Regions from separate parts of the Homo sapiens genome. Here all the other regions are linked to region 1. Evidence: promoter capture Hi-C in 16 types of primary human blood cells and fetal thymus (Javierre and others, 2016). All regions are on one chromosome and are shown on one strand. Each heading gives the region's core, a stretch centred on a gene start or on the middle of the fragment in contact. The rest is flanking DNA. Distances are from core to core; before and after follow the strand shown.

Region 1 (2,814 bases), core at 93-2,592:
CTTAATTCCTTCTTAATATTTTATTTTCTATATTACCTTTGTCTTCCACTGTGGCATTATTCCCAGTAAAGACAAACATCTGTGTACCTTCACCTCCTATTGGAAAAATCATTCCTGTCTCTAGCATGACTGATAGATTAATTACCTCAATTCTCTTTTATCTTCCGTATCTTCCTACGAGTCAACTTGGTCTTAAGTTCCCTTTTACTCAAGCTCCTGTCTCCTCTAAACTGCTCTTCTTAAGACTACCATAATCGACGTGTGAATATATTAGTGTAATCGTGTTTGTAACTTGGTAAAAAAACAAAACACTATTTAGCAAACTGAAGTAACAGAATTTTGTTCATTTTTCTACGGGACATTTTAAATGACCTATTTCTTTAAAGTTTTGTCTGTATTACAGGGCCTTAATGTCTAGTTTCACAACTATATTAACCAAGCCTGAAGCAGGCTACAGTTAGGCAATATTTTCCAATATAAAGACCTCTGATTAAATTCTTACTGTGAATCTTCGGAATTTGGCATGAAACAGAACAAGCATGATTGCACCTGTTCTTCCCTATTGTAAACCATCTTCGGTGTCAACATATACAATAAGTTTTGTGGTATTTCCACCTGGTTTTCTATTTTCAAAGTACCCTTGTATGACACAGGTATAAAAATATTTTGATTCTAATCTGCCATTTTCCTTACTCTCACACTTTTTTGGACGGCTTATAATTTTCGATATGGTACAAAGCTCACTAACTGGTTCTTTGCTAGAGGCCTGCTACTGATACTGATGGTCGCTAAATGCTAGGTACGCCGCCAGTATTGCTCTTACTTCAATACCGACATCGCAGGATAAAGGCAGTCACATTTAGGCGCGCAAGCGCAATTCTTGATTAATGAGCCAAGGCAGACTTCTCAATCCGAGTTTTGAGTTTTCCTTACTTTTCCCCCAAATGCTCTTTTCCTCGGATTTCACATCGATAGCACTTATTCGAGTTTTCACGAGTAACCTGACGCAGGCGGAACCGACGAAGACTAGCCGGCAAGAATCCTACAGTCGCAGCCATCTGCGCAGCGTCCGCCGGGGACGCTCCGCGCGGAAGACCGCCTGTGACTCGACACACTCTCCAGTGACGCGGCCGTCGCCGCACCTGCGCGGCGGGGCGGGAAGGAGACTCCCAGCGCCGGGGGGAAGGGAGTCTACGACTCGGGAGGGAGGTGGGGGAGCAGGGAGGGAGAGAGGGAACAAGGGAGAAGGAGAGAGGCGGACAGGCGGAGGGGCGGAGGGGCAGAGGGGCGGAGGGGCGGTCCTTCCGGAGGTTCTTAGGTCCTTCACTTCCTGTTTGCCGGCACTTCAAAATCCGGGTCAAAGGGTGTCGCTTCGGTCTCTTCTCCCCGGCTGATCCCAGCACTCTCCGTGACAGCGCCTCCTGACTCAGCCCAGGACCGGCTTCTTCTCACGACCTGCTGGAGACTGGACGCCCACACCTGACCCGGAACTCGGAGGCGTGCTTCCTCCACCCGCCGGCTAGCAGCCCCGGGCCCTGAGCTCCCGCCGACGCCGCTGGGGGGCCCGACAGGCCCCTCGGCGCTGATGCTGAGTGGGATCGAGGGCCCGGGGCGGCGGCGGAGTACGGGCCTCTGGCGCCTTAGGCCAGCCGCAGGTGTCGGTTCTTAGGCTCTCCAGGCTCGCTAGCTCCCGCCCCGGCTTGGATGGGTCTCCCTGCGCCATAAATGTGGCTGCTGAGGCGGCGGTGGCCGTGGCCCGTCGCGCTGCTGCTGCGGCGCTCCAAGTTCATCTCCGCCCCGGGGCTCTCCTGCCCCACCTCGGGGCTGCCGCCACCCGCTCCTTATCCCCTGGCCCTGGCCTTGCAGCGTGGCGACAATGGACAAGATCCTGGAGGGCCTTGTGAGTTCCTCGCATCCCCTGCCCCTCAAGCGGGTGATTGTGCGGAAGGTGGTGGAATCGGCGGAGCACTGGCTAGACGAGGCGCAGTGCGAGGCCATGTTTGACCTGACGACCCGGCTCATCCTGGAGGGCCAGGACCCTTTCCAGCGGCAGGTGGGGCACCAGGTGCTGGAGGCCTACGCACGATACCACCGGCCAGAGTTCGAGTCCTTCTTCAACAAGACCTTCGTGTTGGGCCTCCTTCATCAGGGCTACCACTCTCTGGACAGGAAGGATGTAGCCATCCTGGACTACATTCACAACGGCCTGAAGCTGATTATGAGCTGTCCGTCGGTGCTGGATCTCTTTAGCCTCCTGCAGGTAGAGGTGTTACGGATGGTGTGTGAGAGGCCGGAGCCGCAGCTCTGTGCCCGACTGAGCGACCTTCTGACCGACTTTGTGCAATGCATCCCCAAGGGGAAATTGTCCATCACGTTCTGTCAACAGCTGGTTCGAACGATAGGCCATTTCCAGTGCGTGTCCACCCAGGAAAGAGAGCTGCGGGAATATGTCTCCCAGGTGACAAAAGTGAGTAACTTGCTGCAGAACATCTGGAAGGCCGAGCCTGCCACACTACTGCCTTCCCTGCAAGAAGTTTTTGCAAGCATCTCTTCCACAGGTAAGGGTCATTATCTTTCAGAATATCTCATAAAAAATCAGTATATGTCTCTCTTGCACACACACATTCACACCATGTTTTCCTCCTGCCCTAAAAACATTCTTAAGCGAGAGCAAATCCTAATACCTCATCCCAAATTTATTCACATTCACTACCTTATTCAGGACGTCACATCGTACTTTAAAAACAGGCAGCGTTCCCATTTTAAAGGTTGAGAACGTCCAGGTCTAAGACCTTTGGCACTAAACAAGTTGCT
Region 2 (2,814 bases), core at 106-2,605, 3.0 Mb after region 1:
GTGTCAAACTGGGCCCTTACCCAGCTACTCCCCTTAGAGAAGGTTGCAGCTGCTCAGCAGATGAACTAGGCCCTTAAAACTCCTCATGGCTCCCTACCCACCACACTAGTGTTAACGGCTCGATTAGGGCTCTGTAGGAAAGGGAAAGAAGTTTGAATCAAAAATTTTCTTTTTTTTTTTAATAATTTAAACAATCAGTAAGGAATGTGCAATTTGATGTCGTTTGCAAAGAAAGTTTTTAGGAACAGGGCTTTTTATCCTATTATGTTTGTTCTTTGCACGTAATTATTTGATTTAAATGGTACTTTTCTTAAAATTTTTATTTACATTGTATTTTATATTGCAAGAACTTCAAATACAGCCCTCACAATAAATCAGTAACTGTTCGGTCTTTATCCAAACTGAACTTTTATAGAAGGATATAAGGAAGTCTCTATTCTTTAACAAATCATATCCAGTTGTTTTCTGTCCCTGATATCAATCAAAAGTTCATTTCTTCTGCCTTTAACCAAAAGAAGTTTACAAGGGAGGAACTCTTTATCTTCGAAAAAAATTTTGCATCTTAGATTTTATAACACCTAATGGGGTTAAGGATCTGTGTTGAAAGATCTTATCACTCTGTGTATAGTGTTACAAATCATAAATATAATTAAAGTATAAGTTTTCAACTGATGAGAGTATATGTGGAGGGGGAAAAACGAATCAAGTCCTGGTGTAACAGTTCTCTTCTTTTTCCCTTTCAATTCCATTAATAGAAAGAGTATTGAGAATTCATGCAAAATTCCAAACCAAGTTCCCATAGTAGCACTGAAATAAGTCTGCACACCATTTCCAATAGGAACTAGTAATGTAACACAATTAATGTCATTATAATTTGGAGTTACTTGAGTGATTTTGATTATTTTTGTATCAATTAACATTGCCATGGAAACAGTCTCTTGCTAAAATGGCTTAAGTCTTCACACATTTAATCAATATCCAGAGGTAGATTTAAAGACTTGAGGTGTTTCATTTATTTATTTATTTGCTTTAAACTATTCAAGGACGTTTCTGGGTACACAATGCCGTTACTTAAACAGTAAATTCCAGTTTCCTATGACTTCAAGTTATTTTTTACACTTCTGTAAATAAATCCTGCCCAAAAGATCACTTCTAGTTTCCTGGAATTTTGTTTTTGTTTTGTATTGTATTTGTTTTGTACTCAGATTTCTGTTAGAGGAACTCCACTGCACCAATTTTGCTACTAGACAAACCAGGAATCTTGGATTTGCGCGCTTTGGTGCTGACAGGCTTTTTCGGCCCCAGCGGGCTGCCGTAGCAGAGAAGAGCACTGATTGGCTGAGGCAGAAAAGTGCCCCTGCCTCGGCGCTTTCGGTTTTGGCTGGGATCATCCGCGGCGGCCGGGCTCGTGGGGCGCCTGGAGTGAGGGTTCTGGTTCCCGCCGGCGAGGTGAGCCGCACCGCTGCGCGGGCCGACGACGGGGCCGGGCGCAGCCCCAGGTTCGGTGCCCCAGTGTTCAGTCGCGCTGTGGAGCGGCGGCTGCAGCGGCCCTAGGCCGGGCGAGGCAGCCCCGGAAAGGGCCTGCGGTGAACAGGCTGGGGCTCCGGGAAGGGACCGCTGGGTGGCGGGTCCCCGCGAAATGCCGCGTCCAAGCTCTCCGCGCATGGAATGGCTGGGAGAGGTCTGATGGTGGGCGCCGGGACCGCCCTCAGCGAGGCGCCTAGACTGCGCGGAGAGGAGCGGCACCGTCCCGGCTCCTACCGAGTTGGCGTCCGAGATCAATTCAGGTTGTTGAAGTTCCCCAGGGAGCCCCGACGCTAATCCCAAGATTCGGCGGGAAAGCGGATCCCGAACCCAGGCCTAGGCTTCGCCTGTCTTCCAGGAGGGCTTCAGGGAATTGCGAACCCTCTCCTACATCGGGGTGGCTGCGCCTGACCACAGGAATTAAAGGCTGGACTCGCCTGTCTTACCAAGTTGTCAGGTCGAGGAACCCGATTGTATGGTCTTAAGTCCTATCGCCCAAGGTTTTCTGTGCGTATGCGTGTCCGCACACCTGCATAGCAGGCATTTTTAAGGTGTGTAGGATTAAGATGATGCGGATTACCCTGCCCCACTGCTCTTAGTAATACGTGACTATTGTAGAAAATTGCAAACATAGAAGACTTTAGTGAAGAAAATAATATTCACTGAACCCTTTCACCTACGATCATTTTCTCTTGTATGTGCTAGCTTCTACTTGAACTAAGAGTGTACATGTTTAATCACTTAACAGTGTAGTTTTCCACTTCCATTTAAAAACTCTTCCTAAATATTATTCTAATTTTGTATCTTCTTTTGATTGTCCTATCATTGTGGGTCCCAGTTTAGGTCCCGTAAATTATTCAGTCATTTCCCGATTGTGGGACATTAGATTGTTTTTGAATTTTTACATCATCTTAGCATCCCAGATAGTGCTTTGATAAACTCTTTTCCCCCTATTTTTTAGATTATTTCCTTGGACTAGATTCTCAGAAGTGAAATTATCAGATTAGATGCTGTCATCTGAAAGGTCTGTTTTAGGCCTTCATACACATTGCTGCAGTGTTTTCCAAAAAAGTTTTAGAGATGTTTGGTAATTTTACTTGCTTAAATATTGTGCAGAAATCTTGAGAGGCTTGTGTTTGTGGTGTGTGTGTGTGTGTGTGTGTCACTGGCGTTAATGCGTTAGACTACCTGAATGTTAGGGCAGGAAGAGACTTAAGTGGTCATCTGGCATAACTCCCTTATATTGCAGATGAGGAACCTGGGGCCATGAGAAGTGAAATTATGAGTTAT
Region 3 (2,814 bases), core at 111-2,610, 2.8 Mb before region 1:
GCCCAGGCTGGAGTGCAGTAGTGTGATCTTGGCTCACTGCAACCTCCACCTCCTGGGTTCAAGCGATTCTCCTGCCTCAGCCTCCCAAGTAGCTGAGACTACAGGCCAAGCCACCATGCCCGGCTAATTTTTGTATTTTTATTACAGACAGGGTTTCACTATATTGGCCAAGTTGGTCTGGAACTCCTGACCTCAAGTGATCTGCTCACCTCAGCCACCAAAAGTGCTGGGATTACAGGCGTGAGCCACTGTGCCCAGCTGTTACTTCTTATTGTTGTAGGGTTTGGTCAAATAGTGGAAAAGAAAGGTTAGGGAGGGAGCTACAAAAATACTACTTGACTTATTTTAAAAATATTTCTATTAATGGCCACTGACTTCTACTGATGCTTCTTTAATCTCCAGCTGGTGTGGTTCTCTTCCTTTTTAAACTTTAGATATCCAACCAACATTTTCTGAGACATTTTGTGGTATTTCCCTTAGGATACTATATAAGGAAGGAGGAAGAAAAACAGGAGTTTGACACAGAACTAAAGATCATTCAATTTAGAGGTTTTTGGGAGAAGCAAACTGGGATGGGCCCTGAGTGTCATTGCATATTCTTGCTGGTATGCCAAGAATACAGTCAACCCAGGCTTTACTCAGGTATGTTTTCAGAGAGCAACTTTAAGGGATGAGGTAATGCCTCTCTGGTTAAAGAGCAAGCTTGCTTCCACTTGCCATAAAAGCCAAAGATTCCCCAAACTCAATGTTCCTCTCCTATATTATAACCCGCTGCATGTATAGGCATCTACAGGGGCCCTCTGCCTCATCCCTGTGGGACTTGGGGGACATAGGTAACAGCAACAAATCAGCATGAAGCTCATGATGAGCTGGGAGTAAGAGAGTCCTTAGACTCTGACCCAGACATCTCATGTCTTCCGCCAGCATTCATGAAACAGGCAATCGTTAGCTTGTAAGTGCAGCTGACCTTTGAACACCATGGGTTTGAACTGCATGAGTCCACTTGTATGCATTTTTTTCAGTAAATATAATGGAAAATTTTTTGGAGATTGTGACAATTTGGAAAAATTCACAAACTTCATAGCCTAGAAATATATAAAAAATTAGGTATGTCACAAATGCATAAACATATGTAGATACTAGTCTGTGTTACTATTACCATAAAATATCACAAATCTATTATAAAAAGTTACAATTTATCAAAACTTATGCACATGCTTACAGAGCACACATGGCACCATTTGCAGTTGAGAGAAATGTAAACAAATGTACAGATGCTGTATTAAACCATAAGTGCATAAAATTAACTGTAGTACATACTGTACTACCATCATAATTTCACAGCCACTTCCTGCTGCTATTGCTGTGAGCTTAAGTGCTGTGAGTATCCACTTAAAATGCCATGGGATGCTAATTATCTCTGTGTGAGCAGTTCATCTCTCTGGTAAATTGCCTATAGCAGTAAAAAGTAATCTCTTGTGGTTCTCTAGTGTTTTTTCATTGTGTTTAGTGCAATACTGTAAACCTTGAATAACACCATGGCACCCATACAAAGTGCCACTAGTGATGCTGGAAGTGCTCCCAAGAAGCAGAGAAAATTCATGACATTACAAGACAAAGTTGAATTGCTTGATATGTATTGCAGATTGAAGTCTGCAGCTGTGGTTGCCCACCGTTTCAAGATAAATGAATTCAGCTTAAGAAAGATTGTAAAAAAAGAAAAGGAAATTCATGAAGCTATCACTGCAGCTACACCAGCAAGCATGAAAAACTTACACTTTTTGCAAAATACCTTTTTATCTAGTATTGAAAATGCAGTTTTTCTGTGGGAATGCAGGATTGCTATAAGAAAGGCATACCTACTGTGATGTGATTTGAGAAAAAGCGAAGTCATTATATGACAACTTAGAGCAAAAGGAAGGCGAAGGATGTAAACCTGAAGAATTTAATGCTGGCAAAGGATGGCTTAATAATTTTAGGAAGAGGTTTGGCTTTAAAAATGTCAAGATAATTAAAGAAGAAGCTTCTGCCAATCAAGAGACAGCAGACAAGTTTCCAGATGCCATTAAGAAAATCATTGAGGAGACAGAATATCTGCCTGAACAGGTTTCTAATGCAGATCAAAGTGCCCTATTCTGGAAAAAAAATCCACAAAGGACATTTATTAGTAAGGAAGAGAAGTGAGCACCAGGATTTAAGGCAGGAAGGGATAGGCTACCTATACTGTTTTGTGCAAATGCAGGGGGGTTATGATCAGGACTGCCCTTATCTATAAAGCTGCTCATCCCTGAGCCTTGAAGGGAAAAGAAAAACATCAGCTGCCAGTCTTAATGGCTGTACAACAAGAAGGCCCAGACAATGAGAACCCTTTTTCTGGATTGTTTCCATCAATGCTTTGTCCCTGAAGTCAGGAATTACCTTGCCCATAGGGACTACCTTTAAATTTTTTTCTGATATTGGACAGTGCCTCTGGCCACCCAGAACCCCATGAGGTCAAAACTGAAGCTGTCAATGTGGTCTACTTGCCCCCAAACACAATGTCTTTAATTCAGCTTCTAGATCCTTGGCTCTTAAGAACCCTTAAGCCTTATTACACAGGGTACTCAATGGAAAGGACTGTCAATGCCATGGAAGAGAATTCTGATAGAGAGAGCATCATGACAGTCTGGAATGATTACACCATTGAAGATGTCATCGTTGTTATAAAAAAAAGTTGTGAAGGTCATCAAGATTGAAATAATAAATTCCTGCTGAAGAAAACTATCCAGATATTGTGCATGACTTCACAGGATTTACCACAGAGCCAATCAAAGA
Region 4 (2,814 bases), core at 231-2,730, 2.8 Mb before region 1:
GCCAGGCTGGTCTCAAACTCCTGACCTCATGATCCACCCGCCTCGGCCTCCCAAAGTGCTGGGATTACAGGTGCGAGCCACCGTGCCCAGCCGGAATTAACCTCTTATGTGATCATCAGGAACTGCATGTGTTCAATGTCTTGATAATGTTACAATACAAGATGATAAGTTGCTTGGAAACTGACTGCCTGTATTCAGTATATGAATTCAGTTGTGTTAACCTGATATATATCTTAAACATTTCTAGTAAAGATGTTATAGTTTTATGTTGATAAGACATGAACCAAAATTCACATTTTAAAAACAAAGTCTTTTTAAAAAATTACTCAACATTAATGCTATTTATGAAGAATAGCATTTAGTCTAATGTGAAATATCTTTTTAGGAATTTGTCTACTAATTTGTACTCAGTTTGTTTACCTTGCTGTCTCTAAAATCCGAATTCTTAAAATTTAAGGATTGTATTATTTCTTTTAAGAATGAATCCTAAGAATTTTGTAATATGGAATCATTGTCATTGTTTTATTGATAATGGGCATTTTTATTTTTTATATAGATCTCTCTGCAAGAGTAGATGCAGTTAAGGAAGAAAATCTGAAGCTAAAATCAGAAAACCAAGTTCTTGGACAATATATAGAAAATCTCATGTCAGCTTCTAGTGTTTTTCAAACAACTGACACAAAAAGCAAAAGAAAGTAAGGGATTGACACCCTTCTGTTTTATGGAATTGCTGCTGATCATTTTTTCTTTAAAACTTGGATAGATTCCAAAAGTTACAGTACCTTTGTGGCTTCATTGAATATTTATGAAGATAATGTCAGATGTAGACAAAAATAACACAATAACAGGAGACTTCCATAAGTTTGTGTATTATGTTAGTCTATGAAAACGTGCAAATGTATTGTAGAGACTTTATGATTAGAATTGCATATATTTATGAAACTTAAAGATGAATGTTTTATTGAATTTGTAGGTTTAGCACTGTCTTTTATTATAGGATTAGTAAGATATACAAGAAAATAACCACCGTGTTGTGAAAAAGTGACCAAAATCATGTACTAAATGCACAGCTTTATGTACCCTGTCCACCATCTTGTGCCTCTTCTCCATTTGCCTCTTCCTTCCTATTTCCCTTCCGCTAAGGAAAAAAATTGGTGTCACATTTGTAAAAGTAATTTTAATAGTTAATCATCTCTGAGAGTAACCTGTATTTTAATTGTTGAAACTTAACCAAAATAAGATACTGTCTCAGCTAGGGCTTGTCATTTGTGTATTTAGTGTTAAGATAGGAATGCTAGTGTCTCTTTAATTAATTGGAAATAGATGGAGGCTAAAAATGAAGGTTTTTCTTTGAAACTGAATTAACTTGGGAATATTTGTTGTTAAAAACTTCTTTTTGCCCAAAATAACTCATTTTGTATTATCTGAAAATATATAATTTCTGGTCATGTGTATGTTAAAATAGAAAATTTTGAGGAAAAATGGAAATAGGGTGGAAAAGTACTCGGTAAACAGTAGTAACCAAATATTTTCACTCCAGATTTGTGTTTTCTCTGGCACAGAGTAGATCTTTTGGGAAATATATATGAAAGTGGATTAAGTTTGACTACCCTTATGTTAGCCACATCTGGATGAGAACAGTTACAAAGAGTTTGGTCTCTAAGTTGATTTGTACCCAGTGGGTCAACTTCTGCAAAATTCCGTAATGGTGTATTAGTATTAGAATAGTGAATAAAATGGGAAAGTTATACATGTATACTTATTATCTTGCTCAGTATTTTATCTCACTTGTTCTAGAATTTTCTGTAAACCCTGCTACTGGGTTTGAAGAGTTTTAGTCATCCTTTAACAATTTTTAAAAATTTAGCTTCTAGATTCCATTTGGTAAGGAAATCAATATTGGAAGTATTGCTAAAATCTTATAATATGAAAAGAGATCCACTAATGTAGCTTAAGGTTATTAGATTTGGGCTTTTAATCATGGAATAATCTTATGTATTGGTGTAAGAGTTGATGAATGACTTTAGCTGTGTGAATATATAATAGTCAAACTGCAAACATTTTGCATCCCTTTTGTGACCTAATTTACAGACATTTAAATTGTGTTGCAGTTCTGCTTTGCCGTTTAATAAAAAGCTATTTCAGAGGTTGTGTGTGTTTTGATATAGTTGCCTAAGTAAATGGGGTATTTAGGTATAGTGGTGTATCCAGGGTTATTCAATGCCACAGAATAGTGTATCTTATTTAAGTACCCAGTTACTGATTATTTAGGGGAATAATATTTTTATTAATACAACTATAACTGGTTATCAATATAAATATCATAGGCTATTATACATTAATTTGGAAAACAAAAGCAAAGCACTCAAAGGATCCAGTATCTCCAGGGAAAAAGGAAGTTGTATTTTTTAGGGTAGGCTAAGCTACTTTAGCAAGAGACCCAGTGATAAAGAATATAAATATAGAAGTTTCTCTCCCAACCAGTGGTTCCAAGGTCAGCATTGCAGGCTAGCAGCCCTTGTTCAAACAGTTATTCAGGGACTTTGGCTGAGGATGGTGCTGCCATTTTAAATCATGGCTTTCAAGTCACTCTAGTTATTCTTCTAATTTGCAGAAAAAGAACATGGAAGTGTACATATGCAAGGTGTTATGGGCTGTGCCTGGAAATGGCTCATATATCTTCTCATATTCCAGTGGTGTGGAGACTTAGTTACATCTAGATACAAGAGGAGCTGAGAAATGTAGTCCCTGGCTGGGAAGCCATCTTCCAGCTATAAATACAAGATTTTGGTGGCTGCTAGCAGCCTCAGCCAC
Region 5 (2,814 bases), core at 219-2,718, 2.8 Mb after region 1:
TGGTTGCTTTAACTGCTACGTGATACTCCTAGAGTGCACACAGCAATCTTTACTTCGGAAATTCACTTTTTCCCCTGCTATATACTGCAGGTATATGAAGTTTACCCTGAAGCAATTCCAGTGTGCATTATGAGCCCAATATAGCAGTTTTCATTAACTGATACATACTTTCATTACCTTACAAATCACACATCTTTCTTCAAAGAGAGACATAAAGGAGAAAAATAGAAAAGGACGGGTCTCACTAGAGCACAAAAGGTACTTGGTGAAAGAGGACTGTTCTCTTTGTGACTTGCAGTCATTTGGATAAAAGTTCACTCAGAGGTTGTTAATGATTTAAACTCCAAAACCTGCTACTATAATTGAAATAAAAATGGTCTGAAGAAGAGTTGTTTCATAAAACTCTCTTTGTAAGAGGAAACTTTGAACTTAGCAGAATACATTATATGTCATGAGTCATGTAGCTAGAAAATAAAAAGGTGCATTATTTAACTACATCTTCCCTTTTTAGCTTTTTTAAAACTCTGACTCATCATCTTATTATGTTAAATATTTTCCTACCAATTTTTAAATAGACCTTTTCATCAAAGAAAGTGGAGGCACAGTAAAGACATAGAACATTAAAATGACACTCTATAAGCCTACATGGATAACTCATGCCTCTTTGAGGTTGAGTTAATTCTTACAACTTCAGTGGTGTTAAAGAGAGCCATGGGGGTTAAATTCTGACTTGCCTTATTAAAAATAATAATAAGGCTTTATATTGCACACTTTTATAAGTGAAGCTTAAAGAGTGCTGTATCTCCCAAAAGATGTCTTTCACTGATAGAGAAATCTCACGTTCAACCCCTCCCTGCCAACTCCCCCCAAAAGATCTAGCTTCCCAGTAACAAGTAATGCTATTGAAAGCGAGGTTTGAAACACCTGCATGAATTCAATCTAAAACCAAAACAGAGAGCAGTCAAGTTTAAAATGGAGCACCCTGTAATCCCAGCACTTTGGGAGGCGGAAGTGGGCAGATCACGAGGTCAAGAGATCGAGACCATCCTGGCCAACATGGTGAAATCCCGTCTCTACTAAAAATACAAAAATTAGCTGGATGTAGTGGCACACTCCTGTAGTCCCAGCTACTTGGGAGACTGAGGCAGGAGAATCGCTTGAACCTGGGAGGCGGAGGTTGCAGTGAGCCGAGATCGGGCCACTGCACTCCAGCCTGGCGACAGAGCGAGACTCCATCTCAAAAAAAAAAAAAAAAAAAAAAAAGGAGCATCATCCTTAAACCAGTTCTTCCTCAAATGTTGGTTTTAAAAAACTGGTAGTTAGGTTGCCCTGCATTATAATTTGAAATATAACTATCTTTCCACTCAGGTCAAATTCAATTTGCCATAATTTTGACTATTGTCGGTGACATTGGACTTGAAATTAATATATTAATGATAAATTAGAGCCCATCCTTTCCAAGTAGACCAATGCTCTGAGTGTGTAGAATCTTTACAGCTGAACAAAATGGTCACCACACTTCACCACTGCTCTCTCAGAACCTTTGGCTAGGGTGTTCAGGATTATGACTCTGCATAGACACACCACTACCTTTTCTGAATTGCTAGGACTCTTCCTAATGTTTAGTTTGCTATAATTGAAAACACACTTTAGGCCTTTCCTCAAAGCAGAGTACATTTCCTGCGACCTTTTAAAGGCATGCAGGAAAATGCTGTCAACTTTTAATTATATAGGTGTTCTATCAACAGCCAAAAGCATTTTTAAATTGAATTTATTCATACCTCCACCTCTTTCCAAAAATTATTTGAAATAGTACACAACAATAGAAAATGGAAATAAGGACAGAACAATTTCCGTTTCAATCTCAGGTTGGTACCTTTATGCTATAAAACACTCTTCAAGGTCATTTGCATCTCACCCTCAATCGCTGTATGCTCAGGGAACACAAACTAATTTTAATGTCAGACTAACAAAAACATTAGGAAAATAAATACTTGGGGGTTACGATAATGGATTTCAAAATCAAATGCATAAATAATTTTGGAAATGTATGCTTTTGGGATATATATACCCATGAACCATGAGCTTTGATTATTGTTGGCCATACTCATCAGATTGGAATATTCTATTTGATTCACCCCACCCATGGACTAAGCTTTAAAAAGCATATTTTATCTTAATAATTATAGTACTCTCTCCACCCCCATCTCCATTACCTCTCAAATGTGAAATTAAAATAGATTTTCTCAAAACTGTGCACTCTAAGAAGAAGTTTCATAAACACTCTCACAGAAGTGAAATCTATTCAAGCTCAAATATTGCTAACGATGAGTAGACAAAGGGAGCACTTACCCTAGAATAGTGTGTGGTCTGCAGGTCCGAAACTACTTTCATACTATCCAGAGTCCATGAGGTCAGAACTACTTGCATACTAACAGTAAGATGTTATTTGTCTTTTTATCTGTGTTGACATTTGCACTGATGATGCAAAAGCAATGGTGGGTAAAAATGCCACATCTTAGCACTAATCAGGGCAGAGCACCAAAAAGTATAATAGTGATCCTATTCTTCACCATCATGCACTTAGAGGAAGGAAAAAGGGAGGTTCATCTAAGAATGTCCTTGATAGAGCAGTAAAAATTATTAATTGTATTACATCTCAATCCTTAAGTACAAGACTTTTAAATATTCTTTGTTGACAAAAAGGTAGATACATATAAAGCACTTCTGCTGCATACTGAAATACATAGGTTGTCTGAAGGAAAATCACTTGTGAGATTGTTTGAAATAGCCACTTTTTAATGGAATGCTATT
Region 6 (2,814 bases), core at 92-2,591, 2.7 Mb before region 1:
GATTTAAGATTCTGTGATTTTACTATTGTAGTGTCTATCCAGACTTCATTACCAAGTTCATTGTTGGTATGGGACAGGGATGACGGCTTATGCACCCTGCACATGGCTAGTGTTCTACAATTAGTCCATTTTTTAAACGCTGGTTGAGATGTGGGAAAGTATGTATCACTTGCTTCAATTCAAGGAGTTGGAAGGAATATACATATATACACTTGCATATAATATTTTTGGAATTAGAAACAAGAAAGTAATACTGGTTGCTTCTGAGCAAGGTGACGGAGGTATCAGGAGTTTTGGGTGGATGGGGAAATTTGTTTTCAGTATCAGTTGTCCTTTGTATTTATATTCTACTCTCCCCCTTGCTCTTTCTCCTCCAGCCACCCCGGCCTTCTTGCTCTTCCTCCAACATTTCAAAAACCCTCCCAATTCAAGGTCTTTGCACTTGTCATTCTGGTGCCTGGATCACTCTCCCTCCAGATACTCCCACAGTAAACTCCCTTACTTCGTTCAATGAGGCCAAAATGCCACGTTAATAATGAGACTTCCTTGACCACACTGTATGCAATGACTTCCCCCACAGACTCCCCATTACCCCTTAGCTAACAACCCCTATACCCTTAACATTTAGTAGCATCTGACATATTAAATATTTGGCTGTTTGTTTCGTGTTTGACTGCCTTTTGGAACACTGCCTGTGCTAACAATCAACAAATACTTGTTGAATTAAGAAACTTACTGCTTGAGGTTTTTAAAAAGTAATCACGAAATTACTTTTTCAACAAAAACAACCAGTTAGGGAATAAACATTTGATAAATTAACTTTTAGACCTATAGTATTATAGGATAAAGTCCAAACTTCGTTTCTCAACACATGGACTTTCCTCATCTGCCACGTATTGGCCACAGTCAAGTAGCCGGTTCCCTTTTCTCGTGCATAAAGTGGAGTTATTCATAATTACTTCACAGAATTAAGATTCAATGCAGATGAAAGCGCTTTTGTAACTAAGGCACTATAAGTTACCGTAAGCACAGGGTTTCTTCCGCGCTTGGAGCCTAGGAATAGTACAAGGTGTCAACCCGCGCTAAGGACCTGAGGTTCAAGGAGGGAAAAGTCTCCAGCGCAGCGCTAGGAGGCGCTACTCCGGCGCGGGGCGGGGCTCCTGGCCGCCGTTGCCAGGGAAACCGTCTGGGCGTCCCTAGTATCTGAGCCCTCGCGCCTGGGCCACTCAGCTCGACCTCTCTCCAGCGTTAGCAATAGGTGGAGCGCGGGCCAATCGGAAGAGGCCGGAGGGGCGGGGCGGGCAGTGGCCCTGGGAAGGCGGGTCCGCGGCCTCGCTCCCTGACTTCCGGGTCGCGGTGCTTGAAGGGAGTGTTCCGTCGTTTCCGTTGCCGGCTGTTTGCAGTGGGGAAACCGAGGCAGCTCCTGCTCCCCCTAGTTCTTCCGCTCCTGTGAGGTGGCTGCTGTTTCTTTTCCTCTTGCCCCGGATGCCTCGGTGCGGCTGCACTGAGAGCGCGCGGGCTCGCGAGCCCCGCGGGGTTCTGCGGGAACCCGGGGGCGCCTGGGCCGGCGGGTCTTTGTGCGAGCCCTGCCCTCCCATTCGCGGGCGGCGCGCGAGGGGGGTCGGCGCAGAGACGCCCAGAGCCCTGGGGTGCTCAGGCGCCGCTACGCGTGCATCCCCTCTGCTCGGCAGTTCTGCGCTTTTGTCCTAATGAGCGCGGACTAGATGGCTTGATTTTCAAGATAATGATCAACCCAGCTGTGCTATGCGCTCTTTCTGCACTGACCTGCGGGTACTTCGAACTTCGACAGTCCCTCCTCAGGCCCTAGTCCAGAGGTGACGTGTCTGTGGGAATGTTTAAGGCAGGAAGGAGACGAGCAATTTTGTTTTTAAGTATCTCCCTCTCACTAGTATCTCCCTGACTTTTTCATTTAGAAGCTGAAGAATTTTCTTATGGCATAAGATATAGTTGTATCGAGTGTGTACTTAGCAAAACAAAAACTTGTTAGTATTTCTGCCCTTGACCTATTGAATGGAAAATCAAGAATGAGCTAAGGTGTTATATACTCAGTGTTCAACTTGTATACTTAAGTTTGTAGTGTTTTTATTTGCTGGCATCACCTGACTGGGACAGTTGTAACGAATTATCCACATGGGATAAGAAGAGTGTATTCTATAAAAACAACTCTGATGTTTTGGTATATATTTTAATTGTTGATTAGTTGGAGTCCTCTTGATCTTGAACTGTTGAGCCCCAGTTCTCAAAGAATGGGAAGTTAGGAAACTAAGATATGAAATACAATTATTTAGCAAAAAGTGCAAACCATTCTGTTACTCTTTCAAGCCATTGAATAGTTTGAGTACATTGTTTGAATTTTAGTTTTGAAAAAGTGATTAATTGGCCATTTGATCATCAATTAATAGCGGTATATATTACACCTGCCATTGTTTTTAAATGCCTAATTAAACTGTCAAAACAGACACAATGAAATGATAGATACATAATTTGAGATTTGATCAGTTGTATAAACTTTTTAAATTTTAAAATTCAGTTTAAGGTCATTAAGCTTGTCTTGTATGTTTCCCTCCTCCAGGAAAAAAAAATGTTTATTTCTTTGTGGGAGTTCTTCTATGGGCACTTTTTTCGATTTTGGATGAAATGGCTATTACGACAGATGACTGGGAAGTGTGAATTGCAGCGAATATTTGATACCTATGTAGGTGCACAAAGGACACACAGGATAGGTAATGTTATTCAAAAAGAAAAAGTACTAATAAAAGTTTAACGGAGTGTTTTTCTCAGGACTCACAGTGA
Region 7 (2,814 bases), core at 147-2,646, 2.4 Mb after region 1:
GGTTCCGTCACATGGCGTGCCGGGCAGGGTCTAAATCTCTTTCAGCAGAGGGCATGCTGTCTTCATATGTATTTCTCATTAGAAAATGAAAGACGACCTAAACCAAAATAATATAAAAATTTTTTATTATCTGTCTTAAGAGTTGTACCCTAATCCATATGTTTAGAAAACATAAACTAATAAAACTTTTCCAACTTGGTAGAAAGCCAAAAGTTTCCAGAAAAACTGTGTGGATTATTCAGCATTTTGCTGTTGTCTACAATGTTCAGAATATTCTTTTACAATAATTTTGCACTAAATACCGGTTTGTGTTCAGGGTAACAAGAGGTTTTTAAAAAGTCAAAGACAAGGACAGGTTTTTTAAGGGCTGTATTCTATTAGGAGAGACAAAACAAGCATGAAAAGTTACATATCCATAAGAAATGTAAATCACCATTTGAGATATTTGAAGATGTCAAAAGAAAACCTTTATTTAGAATGGAAAGAGCTGGTGAATGCTCGAAACATTTACCATTTAGCTGATTGTTGCCATGTGGGAATGGGGGTCTCTCAAACGCAGATCCGATTTTCTCCAACACAGGCCAAAGATCTGTATTTTTACGTATTTTTTCTTGATTTTTAATGTTACTTGCAACCAATTTAGTTAACACACACCTTCTGTGGGTGGGCCAGGTGCAACTAGTTTGTGACCTCTGCAGATTTTCACCTTAGTACAGTCCTACACTTACACAATGGTTCAGTTAAAGATTTTTTGACTTTACAGTGGGTTTATCCAGACACAGACCCGATTGTAAGATGAAGACTCTTTGTATTCAGAAATAATTGGAATTAGAGGTCAGAAAAAGTCCTAGAGACTGGGATGGTCAGGAAAGATTTTAAGCTGGGTAGTATAGGAGAGATATCATAGAGGGGGAAGGATGTAAAAGATGAGTTAAATCTTGGGGTTGGGAGAGTTGGCAGGTTTGGAAGATAGTAAACTCTCCTTAGAGGAATTTTGGAAAGGCAAGCGCAAGAGGTGCTGCTGGCCTGGGGACTACACTTTGAGAACCACTGTCCTAGGGTACGGTGAACTTTTGGAGGAATTTGAGTAGGAGGCTAAGGAGATCACATTCACCTTTCAGAATGAGTCTTGCTGTGAAGTCTGAAAGGAGGACTGAGGAGGGAGAGAGAAAAGAGGAAAGTTTCTTAGAGGTGATTAGCACCTGCTTGATGCCAGGCCCTGTGCCAGGCTCTCTCATGCATACTCATTTATACTCACCATGATCCTGATACGTAGATCTTAATGTTTTCATTTTGTAAGTGAAGGAACTTTGAGAATATGAGAAATTACCCAGGTTCCATAGTTGGTCTCAGAGCTTCCTAGTTCAAGCCTGGATTTGAAATAGGGTGGTAGCAGTGGGAATCAAAACATTTAATGGTGATGGAATTTAGAAAAATAGAGACTTCTCAAGCACATTTAAGCCTAAAAGTAGGAATTGGGAAATCTGAATCTTACTGGAAAAGTGATAAAAAGTAAAGTGGACAGAGAACTTTAGAGAATCCCTTCATGAATTTGGTATTTGTTCTTTATTACTCTTAACTCATGATGACCTATTTAAAACCTATTTAAAAGTTGCTTATTTAAGAAGTCATCCTGCTCTACAAAAGTTTCCTGAAATTATTTGAAAAAGAGAAAATAAAGCCTTCTGTGGTTGGGGGGGGTGGAATATGGTAAACAGATTAATGGCATTTGACAGCTTATCTTCAAATCAAAAGTGATTAGCATTGAGAAATGGAAACACTTGGTACAACACTGCATTGCCTGTACGAATTGTGCTGTGCTGCAGACACTGATCTACTGTATTGATTTAGGAAATTCTGTATGCTTTTTCTTGCCAGAGTAGTTATTGAAATTGAGAATATTCATTGGATCAATTTCAAGATAAATATCCCAAGTCAGACTGGCTGCTGCTGAGCAAATTTTTAATGAAGGAAAATATCCATATATTGAAATCAGTTTAAAAAGAAAGTCCTTAAAATATATTACTGTAAAATCTAGAAAAAAATGTACATTTTAGAAACATCAATTAACTGAGTAATCAGTGTAGTGGAGTTATTGACCCATGCAGAATTATGGTGTACATTCATTAATTCTGTGAGCAAATAATTGTGCTATAAATACAAAGATAACTGATATGGTTTGGCTGTGTCCCTACCCAAATCACATCTTGAATTGTAACTCCCACAATCCCCATGTGTCATGGGAGGAGCCTGGTGAGAGGTGATTGAATTATGGGGACAGGTCTTTCCTGTGCTGTTCTCATGATAGTGAATGAGTCTCATGGGATCTGATGGTTTTAAAAATGGGAGTTTCCCTACACAAGCTCTCTCTTTCCTTGCTGCCATCCATGTAAGACATGACTTGCTCCTCCTTGCCTTCAGCCATGATTGTGAGGCTTCCTCAGCCACATAGAACTGTAAGTCCATTAAACCCTTTTTCCTGTATAAATTACCCAGTCTCGGGTATGTCTTTATCAGCAGCCTGAAATCAGACTAATATACTAGATATGGCCTACTTTTGAGATATCTTACTGAATCTTGTAAAGCTGGGGAATTTCTCTTGTATTTTGATAGTGCTTAGCTTACAAATTGTAGGATGAAGCCATATTCTCGGGAATCATGAAAATTAGTTGAAACATTTTGATTTGATTATTATTATTTTATGGCTGTTATGCTTTTGATGGAGGCAGATACAAAATTCATCAATGCAAAATAATGTTTTACATACTCATTAACATAGTGATTAATGTAAACTATATTTTGACAATGTAAAAT

Evidence for each region. Contacts are between HindIII fragments. The CHiCAGO score rates a contact against its expected background, and 5 or more counts as called.
Region 2: a contact is called between the fragment with the promoter of LSM6 here and the fragment with the promoter of USP38 in region 1, in 1 of 17 cell types (non-activated CD4 T cells). The highest score is 6.1, in non-activated CD4 T cells.
Region 3: a contact is called between a fragment that was not itself captured here and the fragment with the promoter of USP38 in region 1, in 2 of 17 cell types (non-activated CD4 T cells and total CD4 T cells). The highest score is 10.7, in non-activated CD4 T cells.
Region 4: a contact is called between a fragment that was not itself captured here and the fragment with the promoter of USP38 in region 1, in 1 of 17 cell types (non-activated CD4 T cells). The highest score is 6.0, in non-activated CD4 T cells.
Region 5: a contact is called between a fragment that was not itself captured here and the fragment with the promoter of USP38 in region 1, in 1 of 17 cell types (non-activated CD4 T cells). The highest score is 5.6, in non-activated CD4 T cells.
Region 6: the fragment with the promoter of ELMOD2 here is called in contact with the fragment with the promoter of USP38 in region 1 in 5 of 17 cell types (activated CD4 T cells, non-activated CD4 T cells, naive CD8 T cells and 2 more); the score reaches 7.0 in activated CD4 T cells.
Region 7: a contact is called between a fragment that was not itself captured here and the fragment with the promoter of USP38 in region 1, in 6 of 17 cell types (non-activated CD4 T cells, total CD4 T cells, total B cells and 3 more). The highest score is 13.2, in non-activated CD4 T cells.

What each region holds. Positions count from the first base shown.
Region 1 is chr4:143,183,575-143,186,388 of GRCh38, forward strand. It overlaps USP38 (ubiquitin specific peptidase 38), which reads left to right and starts at 1,343. Exons shown (of 10, transcript NM_032557.6): 1 at 1,343-2,558. The coding sequence starts at 1,877. It overlaps USP38-DT (USP38 divergent transcript), which reads right to left and starts at 1,287. Exons shown (of 4, transcript NR_185979.1): 1 at 934-1,287. RefSeq lists enhancers at 393-1,278, 1,279-2,163 and silencers at 1,215-1,264, 1,485-1,734. The HindIII fragment of the contact is 4,447 bases long and covers 1-2,814 here.
Region 2 is chr4:146,174,363-146,177,176 of GRCh38, forward strand. LSM6 (LSM6 homolog, U6 small nuclear RNA and mRNA degradation associated) reads left to right here and starts at 1,356. Exons shown (of 4, transcript NM_007080.3): 1 at 1,356-1,449. RefSeq lists a silencer at 1,506-1,565. The HindIII fragment of the contact is 3,935 bases long and covers 1-2,814 here.
Region 3 is chr4:140,362,335-140,365,148 of GRCh38, forward strand. All of the region lies in intron 2 of SCOC-AS1 (SCOC antisense RNA 1), which reads right to left. It also overlaps a transcript of SCOC not described here. Among named protein-coding and RNA genes, the nearest start is that of SCOC-AS1, 9.6 kb to the right of the region's middle. The HindIII fragment of the contact is 1,321 bases long and covers 701-2,021 here.
Region 4 is chr4:140,380,406-140,383,219 of GRCh38, forward strand. SCOC (short coiled-coil protein) reads left to right here. Exons shown (of 4, transcript NM_001153484.2): 4 at 557-2,814. The coding sequence ends at 699. Among named protein-coding and RNA genes, the nearest start is that of SCOC, 8.2 kb to the left of the region's middle. The HindIII fragment of the contact is 3,889 bases long and covers 1-2,814 here.
Region 5 is chr4:145,939,547-145,942,360 of GRCh38, forward strand. No RefSeq gene overlaps it. Among named protein-coding and RNA genes, the nearest start is that of ZNF827, 2.1 kb to the left of the region's middle. The HindIII fragment of the contact is 1,370 bases long and covers 784-2,153 here.
Region 6 is chr4:140,522,827-140,525,640 of GRCh38, forward strand. ELMOD2 (ELMO domain containing 2) reads left to right here and starts at 1,342. Exons shown (of 9, transcript NM_153702.4): 1 at 1,342-1,454; 2 at 2,594-2,744. The coding sequence starts at 2,603. RefSeq lists silencers at 1,044-1,393, 1,584-1,703. The HindIII fragment of the contact is 7,186 bases long and covers 1-2,564 here.
Region 7 is chr4:145,619,900-145,622,713 of GRCh38, forward strand. The region is part of intron 1 of MMAA (metabolism of cobalamin associated A); the gene reads left to right. It also overlaps the pseudogene NCOA4P3. Among named protein-coding and RNA genes, the nearest start is that of MMAA, 1.9 kb to the left of the region's middle. The HindIII fragment of the contact is 3,337 bases long and covers 1-2,814 here.